Linked DNA regions of Homo sapiens: all the other regions are linked to region 3. Evidence: promoter capture Hi-C in 16 types of primary human blood cells and fetal thymus (Javierre and others, 2016). All regions are on one chromosome and are shown on one strand. Each heading gives the region's core, a stretch centred on a gene start or on the middle of the fragment in contact. The rest is flanking DNA. Distances are from core to core; before and after follow the strand shown. Region 1 has its middle 22 kb from the start of ZCCHC13. Region 2 has its middle 39 kb from the start of ZCCHC13. Region 3 holds the start of CITED1 (Cbp/p300 interacting transactivator with Glu/Asp rich carboxy-terminal domain 1).

Evidence for each region. Contacts are between HindIII fragments. The CHiCAGO score rates a contact against its expected background, and 5 or more counts as called.
Region 1: a contact is called between a fragment that was not itself captured here and the fragment with the promoter of CITED1 in region 3, in 1 of 17 cell types (neutrophils). The highest score is 6.9, in neutrophils.
Region 2: a fragment that was not itself captured here is called in contact with the fragment with the promoter of CITED1 in region 3 in 1 of 17 cell types (non-activated CD4 T cells); the score reaches 5.9 in non-activated CD4 T cells.

Annotation. Positions count from the first base shown.
Region 1 is chrX:74,323,709-74,328,177 of GRCh38, reverse strand. No RefSeq gene overlaps it. Among named protein-coding and RNA genes, the nearest start is that of ZCCHC13, 22 kb to the right of the region's middle. RefSeq lists enhancers at 1,652-2,418, 2,419-3,184. The HindIII fragment of the contact is 1,605 bases long and covers 995-2,599 here.
Region 2 is chrX:74,340,491-74,344,907 of GRCh38, reverse strand. No RefSeq gene overlaps it. Among named protein-coding and RNA genes, the nearest start is that of ZCCHC13, 39 kb to the right of the region's middle. The HindIII fragment of the contact is 1,461 bases long and covers 725-2,185 here.
Region 3 is chrX:72,303,263-72,307,526 of GRCh38, reverse strand. It overlaps CITED1 (Cbp/p300 interacting transactivator with Glu/Asp rich carboxy-terminal domain 1), which reads left to right and starts at 1,613. Exons shown (of 3, transcript NM_001144887.2): 1 at 1,613-1,702. LOC105373250 (a long non-coding RNA gene) reads right to left here and starts at 1,425. Exons shown (of 3, transcript XR_938441.2): 1 at 1,307-1,425. RefSeq lists an enhancer at 558-607 and a silencer at 334-628. The HindIII fragment of the contact is 8,247 bases long and covers 1-4,264 here.

The sequences.
Region 1 (4,469 bases), core at 548-3,047, 2.0 Mb before region 3:
ATAGTAGGTGTGTATATTTATGAGGTACATGAGATATTTTGATACAGGCATACAATATATAATAGTCATATCAGGATAAATGTGGTGTCTATCACGTCAAGCATTATCCTTTGTGTTAGAAACAATGCAATTATACTCTTTTAATTGTTTTAAAATGTACAATGAAATTATTGTTGACTACAGTCACCCTGTTGTGCTATCAAATATTAGACCTTCCTGGCTAATAAGGTGAAACCCCGTCTCTACTAAAAATACAAAAAATTAGCCAGATGTGGTGGCATGCGCCTGAACTCCCAGCTACTCGGGAGGCTGAGGCAGGAGAAACGCTTGAACCCGGGAGGCGGAGGTTGCAGTGAGCCGAGATCCTGCCACTGCACTCCAGCCTGGGCGACAGAGCGAGATTCCGTTTCAAACAAAAACAGAAAAGAAATCTTTACCCAGTCCAATGTTCCAGAGAGTTCTCCAATGGTTTTTTGTTGGTTTGTTTGTGTTTGTTTTGTTTTGTTTTTGAGAAGGAGTCTCGCTCATGTCGCCCAGGCTGGAGTGCAATGGTGCAATCTCTGCTCATTGAGATCTCCGTCTCCCAGATTCAGGTGATTCTCCTGCCTCAGCCTCCGGAGTAGCTGGGATTACAGGTGTCTGCCACCACACATACCCAGCTAATTTTTGGATTTTTGGTAGAGATGTGATCGCACCATATTGGCCAGGCTGATCTTGAACTCCTGATCTCAGATGATCCACCCGCCTTGGCCTCCAAAGTGCTGGGATTACAGGCGTGAGCCATCGTGCCCGGCCCCAGTGGCTTTTTTTTTTAAGTAGTTTCATAGTTTGAGGTCTTACAGTTAAGTCTTTAATCCATTTTGATTTGATTTTTGTATATGGCGAGAGATAGAGGTTCAGTTTCATTCTTTTGCATATGGATAGCCAGTTTTCCCAGCACCTGAGGCCTTCATTTGGGGTAATTTTTTTCTGAGTCCCAACAATATAAAAAGCTTATTTACATATGTAAGCATATATTCATTATTCAACATATATTTCTTGAGCACCTACTAGGCGCCACACTTGTTCTACACACTGAAATACAGCAATTAACAAAACACAGAAATATCTCATCCCTCATGGACATTGTGTCATAGTTGGAAGGAAAAGAACCAAAACAAAAAGGTAAAACATATGTTAAATCATAGAAAGTGTTATAGAAAAATATAAAATGTTTGTTCAGCCAAACTGAATGTATCCTTGATCACTGTGGGGTACGTGCAGAGGGAAAGTGGTCTGCCACCTGGGCTGAGCTTGCCAAAGCCTAGACAGGCACAAGAGCAGGGAAGAGTCCTGCTCAGAAATCAGGATCCAAGACCTGAAGACCTTCAGGATCAAAGACCAATACTTAGCATGGAGAGGACCCCTTGCCTTCTCCTCCTGACCCAGCCGGTCCTCCTGAAAACAGAAACCCCACTAGAAGGAGAAACACCTGTCCACTGACATGGTCTTGAGCCAGGAGGTCCCTGTCTGAGCAGGGCAGTGAAAGAAGTCTGAGACAAGAATTGTGTCCTGGACTCTGCAAATTCATCAAAAGTAGCAGTTCACTCTTTAAGGAGATTACAATATATCCCTATGCACATAAAGACCAAGTGGAAAGTAGGGGATCAGAGGCCTGCAAACTGTGGTGAGGGCTGTCCCCTGAGAGGTGGCTAGTGATGGGGGTTAGGGGGTCACAGAAAGTAGAGGTTACAGATCTCTATAGCAAAGCAGATTGGAGTAGCTGCCCTCCTCCCCTTACTCGCTCCTTCCTCCCTATGCCCCTTGCAGGAAGGAGCCACAAGGAGACTGACTTGGATTCCACAGAAAAAAGTACTTTCTACTGATAAGAAACAGAAAGGGGCTGGGCGCAGTGGCTTACGCCTGTAACCCATCACTTTGGGAGGCCAAGGCGGGCGGATCACGAGGTAAGAAGCTCGAGACCAGCCTGGCCAACATGGTGAAACCCCATTTCTACTAAAAGTACAAAAATTAGCTGGGTTCGTGCCTGTAATCCCAGCTACTTGGGAGGCTGAGGCAGGAGAATTGCTTGAACCCGGGAGGCGGAGGTTGCAGTGAGCCAAGATCACGCCACTGCACTCCAGTCTGGGTGACAAGAGCGAGACTCCGCCTGCTCAGGGGCCGGGGCGGGGCGGGGGGGTTTGGGGGGGGAGGGGTGCGGGGCGGAGATACAGAAAGGCCTGCCTCAGGAGGAAGTAAGCACCCGGTCATCAAAGAGAATATCTAAGCAGAGACGGAGGGTCCTTTGTCATTCAGCCAGTGGTTAAACTCCAGGACACTTGGGGGCCCATTGACCCTAAAATGCATTGATCCTCTGTATTTGGAGAAGGAACTCTGCTCAGTTTTGTCTAGCCAAGTCAGGTGATTCCTAGGATTTTTGACATAATAAGAGTTCAGAAACACCCCCAGGGACCAGAGGCCTTTCCTGGGGTTTTGCAAAGGAGCAGCATTAGCATTCTTTACTGCTCTAATCAGCATCTTAATTGCCAGTCTGTCTCTCAGTCTTTATACTAAGTACCTGGTGCATATTCACCCTCCACCCCCAACCTCCAGTTAAGCTTGAGGGCAAACCTGATATTCCCTAGACCATCTGTATTCCACCTCCTCTCCCTCCCCCTTTTAGAGAGCTCAGGAAATTGGTTTTCATCCAACAGGCTCCTGTTGCTTAGTAACAGAAGCACCTGCTCCTAGCAACCAGGAGCCACAAAGATGCTGCAGAAAGAGGGGGCTGTCTGGACCCTGCTCTTGCTCAGCTATAGACAGCTGGCCTTCCCAATATTTTCCTCATCCAGCACAGACACTCTGTCTCAGATGCCTGTTCTTGAAAAGCTGATCTCTGGGGCAGCTGCTGACCTCACCCCCAACCTGCCTGCCTGGAGCCCCTCTGAATCTCACCTCCCAGGCCACCAGGAGGCAGCTCATGATCACAACTTGGTGGCTCTGGGAAGTGCCCCCACTTAAGAGGGAGAGAGGTAACCAGCTATGTTGGTTTCTTCAGTCTGGCCTGGTGGGTGAGAGTAGGGTGTGCCACACAGGCTCCTATAACCCTGGGTGAGAGCGATTCCTGCCCAGGATGTAGGTGGGGGAGTGTGTCATAATCCAGTACATTTGAGAGTGAAGAGAGACCATATCATTCCCTCCTAGAGATCAGGAAACTGAGAGTAAGGACTGGCTCGGGCCCACACAGCCCTTCGGTGACAGCTGATTCTGAAGCAATGCCAGAACGTGGGGCTCCCCAACATAGTCAGCATCCATGAGACTGCCAGCCCACCGTGCAGTGCCAGAGGCTTCTGCTTCCCCTCCCCAAAGGACACCAAGAACACATTTCTCCACTGCCTAAGAAGACCCCAGCCATCTTGCCTTCTGGGATGGCCCGAGCTCAGGGTGATCGCCAATGCAGATTTTTCCATTTGACGAGCTGCTTTCCTAGAATTTTTGAAATAACAAGAGTTTAGAAGTACCCAGGAGAGGTCTGTCCAGAGCTCTAACTCTGTGGACTGGTGCTAATTGGCATCTTCCTTAGTCACAGATTTCTCTGACCTTCACAGGAGGTGCAGGTGCGTGCATTCCCTCTCCGTCTCTCTGGGGCTTCAAGCTCTGAAAGTGGGGCTGTCCACCAGGAGTAAACCACGGAAAGTAGGGGTTGTGAGGACTTTACCCCCATTCCCATTCCCCCAGCCCTGGGCCAGACTCTCAGGAGGGAGCAAGCCTTCGGGCTGTGAGCTTCTTTCTTGCTTCTCCCCTCCCTCTCCCCTTTCTTCCTCCCAAGAAAAGGTCTTCTGGTCTCTGCCTTCCATTGCCTGGCAACCAAACCAGCTGCCATAGGCTGAGAGGAGCAGCACAGACGCTGTTCAATGAGGGGCTGAAATGAGAGGGTGCAGTTGCTGTCTCCAGTCACAAGCACCCATCGGCAATACCACTGGTGCTCACACATTGCATACAAGGCTTTTCTTACATTTGCCAGCGTTATGTCTATTTGAAAAGTCTTCCAAAGGACAGATATGCCACAGTTAGGTAAACTGCTCCACACTTCACTATTTCATATTTAAAACTTGTCGTTATGGAAAATTTCAAGTCTATACACAAGTGGAAGGACATAGTGACCCCTCCTGTACACAGCATCCAGCTTCAGCGATTATCAGCACCTGGCCAGTCACACATCATTGGATGCATAAGTATTTCAATATGGAGCTCTGAAAGATAAGAACCCCTTTTAGCATAACTACAGTGTTATTATAACACTTAAAGTAATTAGTAATCATTCCATAATATCGTCAAATACCCAGGGAATGTCCAAACTTTAAATGTCTCATGTCTCATCAATGTTATGGAGGGTTTATGTTATGGTGTTTTTTCCACTTTTTGTAGTCAGGATGTAAATAAAGTCCACACATTAATCTATGAGTTCCTCTTCAGGAATATCATGAAAT
Region 2 (4,417 bases), core at 206-2,705, 2.0 Mb before region 3:
AGGAAGGGATAGAGTGACAACATTCTCAACAACATAATTGTGTCACATCAGCAGAAGCATACTAACTGCTTGCAAAGGCATCTTTCCCACCTGCATTTAGGTGACCTACCCTAATCTGACGCATCTGCCTTATTAATTAGCTCCTTTGCCTACTATAGTGGTCCCCAAGGACAAAGATGTCCTCTCATCTCAGAGTACTTCAAATCCTTAGCTGAGCTAAGGGAGCTCCTTTCACTGTAGCTGTTATGGGATCAGGGGCAGCCCACTCTTGGTCCAGAAGCATGAACTCTTCTCCTTTTCCTGTTTGGGACCGTGGATCTTACAACTTCTAGCACCTGCCTAGCGAGGGACCCAGGTGGGCTGGCTGATCTTTCCTGGGCAGCTTAGCATTTCTGACCATAAAAGTTCTAATGATGTGAGTTCACTAAAATACTGGTGCTACAACTTGGCCAGGCGAATGAGGTATATAGGGAGACCACAAAAACTATAGAATGAAGTACAGCAAAGAGTGATGCCATGCCAAACTGATGCAGAGGTATTCCAAATATTGAATTCCAATCACTTAAAGGCCTTCCAAGATCAATTTGCCTATTTATTGTCCTACCGATGGGAATAGACCTCTTCCCAATTGCTTGATCACCAGGATCCTATAGAACTCACTTGTAGGATTTTGAGGCTGAGCCAAAAAAGATAACCACAAGGTGGCAGTAGCACATAACAAGCTTTGTTTGGGTGGCACTTGGAGAGGTTGCTTGAGAGAGGAAGTCCTTCACAGCAGGAGACTATCCAGAGGCAACTGTACCGGGTCATTACTCAGAAGGGGAAAGGGCAAGGGAACTCCCAGGGGAAAGCTGAGGGCTGAATCAGAGATAGAGTTTATTTGTGTAGGTTATATTACTCAGCAGCAAGATGGGGAGTGTATTAGTCCATTCTCACACTGCTATAAAGAAATACCTGAGACTGGGCAATTTATAAAGTAAAGAGGTTTAATTGACTCATGGTTCTGCAGGCTGCATAGGAAGCATGGCTGGGGAGGGCTCAGGAGACTTTCAATTATGGCATAAAGAGAAGGGGAAGCAAGCACGTCTTGCATGGCTGGAGCAGGAGGAAGAGGGGTTGGGGAAGTGCCACACACTTTTAAACAACTGGATCTTGTGAAAACTCTATAACAAGACAGCACTAGGAGGATGGTGCTAAACCACTGGAAACCACCTCCATGATCCAATCACCTGCAACCAGGCCCCACCTCCAGAATTGGGGATTACAATTGAACATGAGATTTGGGCAGGGACGCTGATCCAAACCATATCAGGGAGTTTCTGGGTTAGAGAGCATCAAAGGTCAGCATTAGCTTGGTTTTTTATAGATACAGGGTTTGTCTTATCAATGTCTAGCAGATGTTAGGTATAGTGTTGTGGAGTATGTAAAGCAGGCTGGCTGTAACTGGCCAATCTGCCAGAATCTGCTTAGTTGATTTATATTTAAAACAACTGGATGTGTAAAAATTTTAGGCTTTTGAGCTACAGGTACTAGCCTGCTGTGAAGAAGTAACAATATGGGGGCAATCTTTAGCTTAATTATATAACAGTAGTAGCCATACAGTTTATAATTGAAACACTTTGATATAGACTTTATTTCCTGGTCATTGGAACACTTTGATTGTAGACATTGTTTCCTGGTGGATATCAATGACACATCTCCTCAGAGGGATTGTTTCAGATCTGGCCATGCGATGGTGTAATGAGGCCAAAGAACCAGCAAACCCTCTGAGTACTGTATCTGATATCATAAGTGTTTTCCATTGTATCTAATAAGGAGTTAGAATTAAACCCTGAGTTTATAAATCTTCCAAACAAAAACTCAAAGGGAGAAATAACACACTTGCTGAAACAGGTGACCTTATTTTTAATAAAATCAATGGTAAAGTGTGATAAGATTCTGGGCTATCACAAGCCAGTGGTTTGATATTATTTAGCCAAAAAATTCTTTAGAGTATGGCCTTACTCTTCCATCACGGTATATGCAGTCAACTCTATTCCTTTCCTTGTCGTCTCACAAGACACTTAGGATCAAGTGATTCCTAGCTAAGAAACAAGTATGAAATCATCCCATTCTGGATTTGGATGAAAACTGGTAATAAAATCAAGTAAAACTCCTGGAGGATGCATTGGTTAAGAACCAAGCTTAGTCTATAAGTGTAGCAGGACAAGCCGCAGACAAAACTCCTCAGACGCCGGGTTAAAGAAGGAAGGAGCTTTATTCGGCCGGGAGCGTCAGCAGACTCACGGCTCAAAAACTGAGCTCCCTGAGTGAGCAATTCCTGTCCCTTTTAAGGGCTTATAACTCTAAGAGGGGTCCGCATGAGAGGGTTGTGATCGATTGAGCAAGCAGGGCATACGGGACTGGGGGCTGCATGCACCGGTAATCAGAATGGAACAGAACAGGACAGGGATTTTCACAATGCTTTTCCATACAATGTCTGGAATCTATAGATAACATAACCAGTTAGGTCAGAGGTCGATGTTTAACTACCAGGCCTGGAATGCAGCACCAGGCTGTCTGACTACTGATTTCACTTCTGTCTTTTCTTTAACTCCTACTTTTTCTTTGAGGCAGAAATTGGGCATAAGACAATATGAGGGGTGGTCTCCTCCCTTATTAGGAATTGAACATGAGATGGCACACATATTTATGCTGTATCAAGGTCACAATTATCTTACTGTATAAAACTGAAAACATCACTATCTGGACAGTTGGACATGTTTATGGGGAAAATTATGTTTATCTTTATTTCTATGCTCTGTACTAGTAGGTTGGTTCATTAATAAATATGTGAAAACTTTTGTTTAAAAAAATTATTTAGAATATGCTTCATTCATTCTTCTTGTCCATAAGACTGGGAATAATAAGGAGTATTGTAAATTACTGGCAATTTTTTTTTTTACAGAGCTCTTAAGTTACCATAGAAATGAAATAGCTTTTCCCAACAGATTCCAGATATTTAGAATTCCAAAGGTTGAGATGATAAAATTCAGTAAGGCCTTGATCACTGTTTGAGCATCTGCTTTAGCTGATAGGAGCACTTCCAGTAATTCAGACATCATATACAATTATTCTAATCAATATCTCTTACCTTCTGAGGACGGAAACTCTATAAAATCCGTTTGCTACCAGATTCCAGGTAATAATGCCTTCAGTAGGCTTCCTTAGCTTCCTTATGTGCCCCCTGTAAACAATTTTTCTGACAAGCAACATACCTTTGTATTATATCCTGAATTATTTGATCTTTATTCCAAGTGTGATAAGATTCCAAGGTGTTCAGTATATTTCTTTTGTTTAAATTAGTTTGTTGACAATATGAAAAAGGCATCCAAGGTACAACAATTGAAGTGCAGGAATAATTTTATTGTATAATTCCCAAAGCCCTATGGTGTTCTTAGATACCCTTGGTTTCCAATTTTCTAAATCTTGTGAAGTTGCACGTTTCTGAAATTGTGAATAGGAATCCCCGGATATAAGTAATGGTGATTAAATTTCTCCAGTCAAAACTTTAGTAGCCTTTTTCACAGCTTGGTGTGCAAATTAAATTTCTTTAGACGTTTTACTGTGTCTGGTATGCACACCACAATGAATTACAGAAATCTGTTGGAGAAGCTGGGATAACTCTAAAAGATTGAGAATTAGTTTACAATGTGATATTTTAGTTCACATGGATGTTAGAAAGCCTCTATTCTTCCATATTTGTTTCATAGCATGATAGACTCCAAATGCATATTTGCTATCAGTATAGATATTTACTTCAAGATTGGTGGCTAATTTAAAAGTTTGTGCAAGAACTATGAGTTCTACTTCTTGGGCTGATTTTATGTTTGCAGAGGATAAGCCTCTAAAACCTCATAAGGAGATTCTGGGAATATGGGAGAATAGAAAGTCCCAGGAACCGGCCGGGTGCAGTGGCTCACGTCTGTAATCCCAGCACTTTGGGAGGCCAAGGCGGGCAGATCACAAGGTCAGGAGATCGAGACCATCCTGGCTAGCACGGTGAAACCCCGTCTCTACTAAAAATACAAAAAAATTAGCCAGGCGTGGTGGCGGGCACCTGTAGTCCCAGTTACTCGGGAGGCTGAGGCAGGAGAATGGCATGAACTCGGAAGGTGGAGCTTGCAGTGAGCCAAGATTGGGCCACTGCAGTCAAGCCCAGGCGACAGAGCAAGACTCTGTCTCAAAAAAAAAAAAGAAAGTCCCAGGAACCTATCTCCCCACATAGACAATAATCACACTGGAAGAATCTGTCTGATGTAACTCTTTGGAACTCTGGAGACTCCAAAGTCTGGAGACTTCTGAATGCTTGGAACTTCCTTGGAAAGGCTTAGATAGTAAATTGTGGTTAATTCCAATCAATTTCAGCTCTTAGTAT
Region 3 (4,264 bases), core at 364-2,863:
TTAGGTCAGAAAACAGACACTAACGGCTCTCCTTTGCCTCAGTGAAATTACTAAGTGGAATTTATTGGGCAAGTCCACGCAGGGCGGTGGGGAGAGCCGGTGTCCCGGGCCCTGGCCCCCGACAGCTTTAGAAGCCGGGCACTGGCCAGGGCTCCGGGCGAGGGCTGCCCATAGCCCGGACTCGCCAGCCCCACCCCGGGAGCCTTGGCCGGTCCACAGGGCTGCCGGACTCGCGTGGCCGCGTGGACTCCGTTCCCCAGCCGGCCCTTTGCTTTCACACGATCCGCGGTGACTGCACCAGCTCGAGCGCCTTTAAAGGGCCACAGACGCCAGCCGCTGCTATAAAAATGTGCCCGGCGGCAAAGCTGCAGAAGGGGCACCGCTGAGCTGCCGAGAGGAAGCTCGCTCTGCCCGGCTGCCCTCTTGTAGTCCGCCGGCGAGGGGCAGTTCTCGGTGAGGAGGAAGAGAGCAGCGGACGGCACAGCACCCGCGCGGGCCCTCCGTGAGTATCCAGTTCAGATTTTGCCACCAACTCGCCCACGAGCCAGGACATGTGCTAATAATGCCCTAAGCCGGTTATAAAGACGTGGAAATTGAGGGGAGAAAAAAAAAGGGAAAAAAAGGGTCTGTCCTTCCTGGGATTCCTAGCCGAGGCCAGTCTGCTGCCGTGTGCGTGTGCGTCAGGGCTCTCCGGGCGGCAATGGGGGCTTGAGAGCCGGGTCCCCAGCGCCGGGAAGGGAGCGCGGTGGCCGCCACCGCCACCGCCCCGGAGTCCGGCGCCGAAGCTGCGGGCGGGCGGGCGGGCACCAGCTCGGTCAGGGGCTGCTTGGCGCGGCACTGTGCGGTGCAGCGGCGGCGCGGCGCGGTGCGGGCTTTTCCCAGGCGCCCCGGGGTCGGGTGGCCAACGGCGCGGCCGCGGGCGCTGAGCGCGACCGGTTCGCGGTAGCGGTGGCGGCGGCGTGCGTGCCAGGGGCTGGGGGCTCCGCCGCCTCTCTTGCGGCTCACCGAGCTCCGCGCTTCCCTCTCTCCAGGGCAGGCGGCTTCTCAGAGGTAAGCCGGGCCGCCGGGCTGGGCGCCGGGCTGGGCGGCGGGGCCGAGGACTCCCGTGGAGCGGGTATGGGGAGTGGGCGGCCGCCAGGCGGGCCGGAGGGTTCTGGGGAGACTTGCTTTCTGTTGGAAAGCTGCTCTGCTGGGGGCGAGGGGCCGCCCGCCCGCCCGCCCGCCAGCGCTCGGGTTCGCTTGCCAGCGCGCCCCCCTGCCGGCCAGCGGGGCCGGGTGCCCGCTTCTCCCGGGGAGACGGCAGCACCTTTTCTCCCTGCGCCCGCGCTTTCTCCAGCTTGGCTTCCACCGACTTTGCTAATCTCCCGGACCGCATCTGGACGCTCTGGCTCCGGAGCTGCACAAAGCTCAGATTTACTTCGGGGAATTGAGGCAAGAGGGGGCTTTTCGGGCCGAGTTCAGCGGAATTGCGGGATGGAAGTTAGCGAATTTGGGCAACTTGCCTCTACTGCCCAGTCGACCTCAGCCCTCCCCTCCCCCGACACACGCCCACACACACACACCCACGCGCACACCCCTCTCCCTATAAACGCGGGCTGGCGAGCCGCGCGCCGAGTCCCTGCTTCGCAGAGCACCGGACTTGGAGTCAGAGAGACCTGGCTGCGAATCCCGGCTCCGCCACTTTCTAGCGCTGTGACCTTGGGCAAGTTACCGCACCTCTCCGAGCCTCTCTCACTCTTCTCCTAGCGGGGTTTTAGCACTGACCGCAGGCGGCTTGGCTAGGGGGTAGGCTCAGCCTGCTGCCGCGTCGGATGCTCAGCGGGCGCTCAGTAAGTGTTGATCAGGCGCGAGAGTGGCAGCAGCCGGCGCCGGAGTGCGGACTCGCCGCGGAGGCCGACACCCCGTGCCCCTTCCTGCCTGTCCATCCTGTCTCTAAGATCAGTTCCTGATACAGCACTTGCGGGAACGGACGCTCAGGGCCCCGGTGGCCTGGGTGCACGCGCCCGCCGTGCAAGGGATGCTCCCGGCCGCCCCCGGTTCCGCGGCTCCATCTGGGATGCGGCGAGGAGGGCAGCCGAGCTGTCCGCAAACAACGGGCCTTTAGTTTTCAGGTGGCGAAACTGACTGGTCTGGTTAGAGCGCGTCCAAGCCAAGCCGCAGTGCTGTTTGGATTTTTAAATTTCTCCTTCTGAGTGAGAAAATAGCAATCGAGATGGAACCATCCGGTTGGTGCCATTTTAACTTTTGGTCCCCCAACAGGTTAAAGATGAGGCCCCCACCTGCCTCTCCCTTCTCTTTTCCCTCTCCCCTTCCCACCCCTGTCTAGGCGGGAGGGGGCTGCTCGCCCAAGGGAAGGCCTGAAGCGAAGAGCGGGCAGCGGGACTGGGAACTGGTGGCCGGGGGGCCGCCAGGCATCAGCCGGCGAGAAGGCACTTGTTGCTCTAGGTTTCCCAGCCGCCTGTCGCAGCCGTTTCGCAGTGGTCAGCTCGCGGCTTGGAGAGCGGGCTGGGACGTTTCCGCGTTGCCAAGTTTTGCCCACGAACGGGCTAGAGGGTGGTGGAGGAGGGCAGAAAGCCGGGGAAGCAGAGCCAGGGATGCCGATGGAAATGCGATTGCTTCTTCAGACGCATTCAACAACACTTACTGAGCGCCTATTGAGCGCAGACCCAGGCTGGGGTCAGGGTGGGTGGTGGGTCAGTAATGGAAGGCAGAAGATCTGAATGGACACAGGGCCTCTTCTGGGGGAGCTCCCAGATTGAAGAGGGAGGCGCGGTAAAATGGTCTTCCCCCACGAACTGATATCAGAATAGAGAGAGTTTTTTTGCTCGTTCTCTCTTTTGATTTTTCTAATGTTTCTCTTTTGGTTTTGCTGTTGTTGCTGCTGCTCCTGTTGTTTTTTCTTCGTTTTGTACATTCGGGTACCAAGCGGCAAAAAGGAGAGGGAAGGCTGGATAGGAACAGGAAAAGATGGACAGGGCCCCCAGACATTTTTCTTAGGACAGGAAAATTGTCTGATACTGATTGTGCTAGGGCTCTTGAAGACGACATGTGTTAGACTTCTTGTCTGGTGATCACTTGCTTTTGAAATATTTTTCTACGGTTGCCTCAGAGAAGGAGCAGGGCTTCAATCAAGCAATGATGCGGGACCCAACAGCTGATATTTTTTCCTCATGTTTTTAAAAAAATGTTTACCCCTTTCTCTATTTTTTCCCTCCCCTACCCCCATCCACCCAAGTAAGCAATGCAAAGATGATACAGAGAGGTAGTAAGTGGCCACTTTCTAGAAGTGTCTGAGCAGATTCTTAATGACCGCTGCGGAGTGGAGAGTGTCACGGAGAATTCTAGCCTCCTTGGAAAGATTAGAGACTCTTTTTAAGGTCCTCAAGATTCTTTGGACCAAGAGGTATTTATAAATATGAAATTCTACATCTCTAATTGATCATGAAAGCTAGAATATATGGGGCTTTTTTTTTTTAAAGAGATAGGGTCCCGCTATGTTGCCCAGCCTGGTATCAAACTCCAGGGCTCAGGTGATCCTCCCACCTCAGCTTCCTGAGTAGCTGAGACTACAGGAGGGTGCTACTGTGCCTAGCTATGGGACATTTTTTTCTTCTTTGTAAACAGGCCTCCAGGAAAATAAGTTGAGATTTTCAGAGGTTTGTTTATTTTCTGGTTTGGAGGTATTCTTTTGCCTTCATTCCCTTATCCTTTGGCACTTGAGCCAGGAAATCACTTCTTTGGAAGCCTTTTGAATCCAGCTAGGTATGATGACTTAGCCAGTGGTCAGGTGAGGCATGTGGCCATAGGGGTGCTAGATTCTGCTCCCAGAACCGCTGCTACCTGACTAAAAAGGCATTGAATCTCTGTGCCTCACTTGTCACTATAGATGGGAATGGCTGGACTCAGGTTTCTGGGGTAGGCATCCTAGGAAAGCCCAATGCTGGGGCTGTCTTGGAGGGGGCTTGAGACATGGAGGAAAGTGACACATTCCTAGCTTCTCTGGCTCCAGCTGCCTCAGAGCCCCCAGACCACCCTAATCAGCCTGGCTTCTCACAGGCATGCCCAAGGTCATGCTTTGGAGCTCCATGACATTTGCGCTAGAGACTTGTTATTTCCCTGTGCTGCAGCCTCTAGCTTTCTAGGTCTTCCTTGCCCTGACTTCTTCTCACATTCTCCCAGTCCCAGTGGAGGCCCCAACTCTCCAGCCTGGATGCTAGTAGCCCATTGAGACAATATGTTGCTTACTCAGGGACATTCCTGTCCT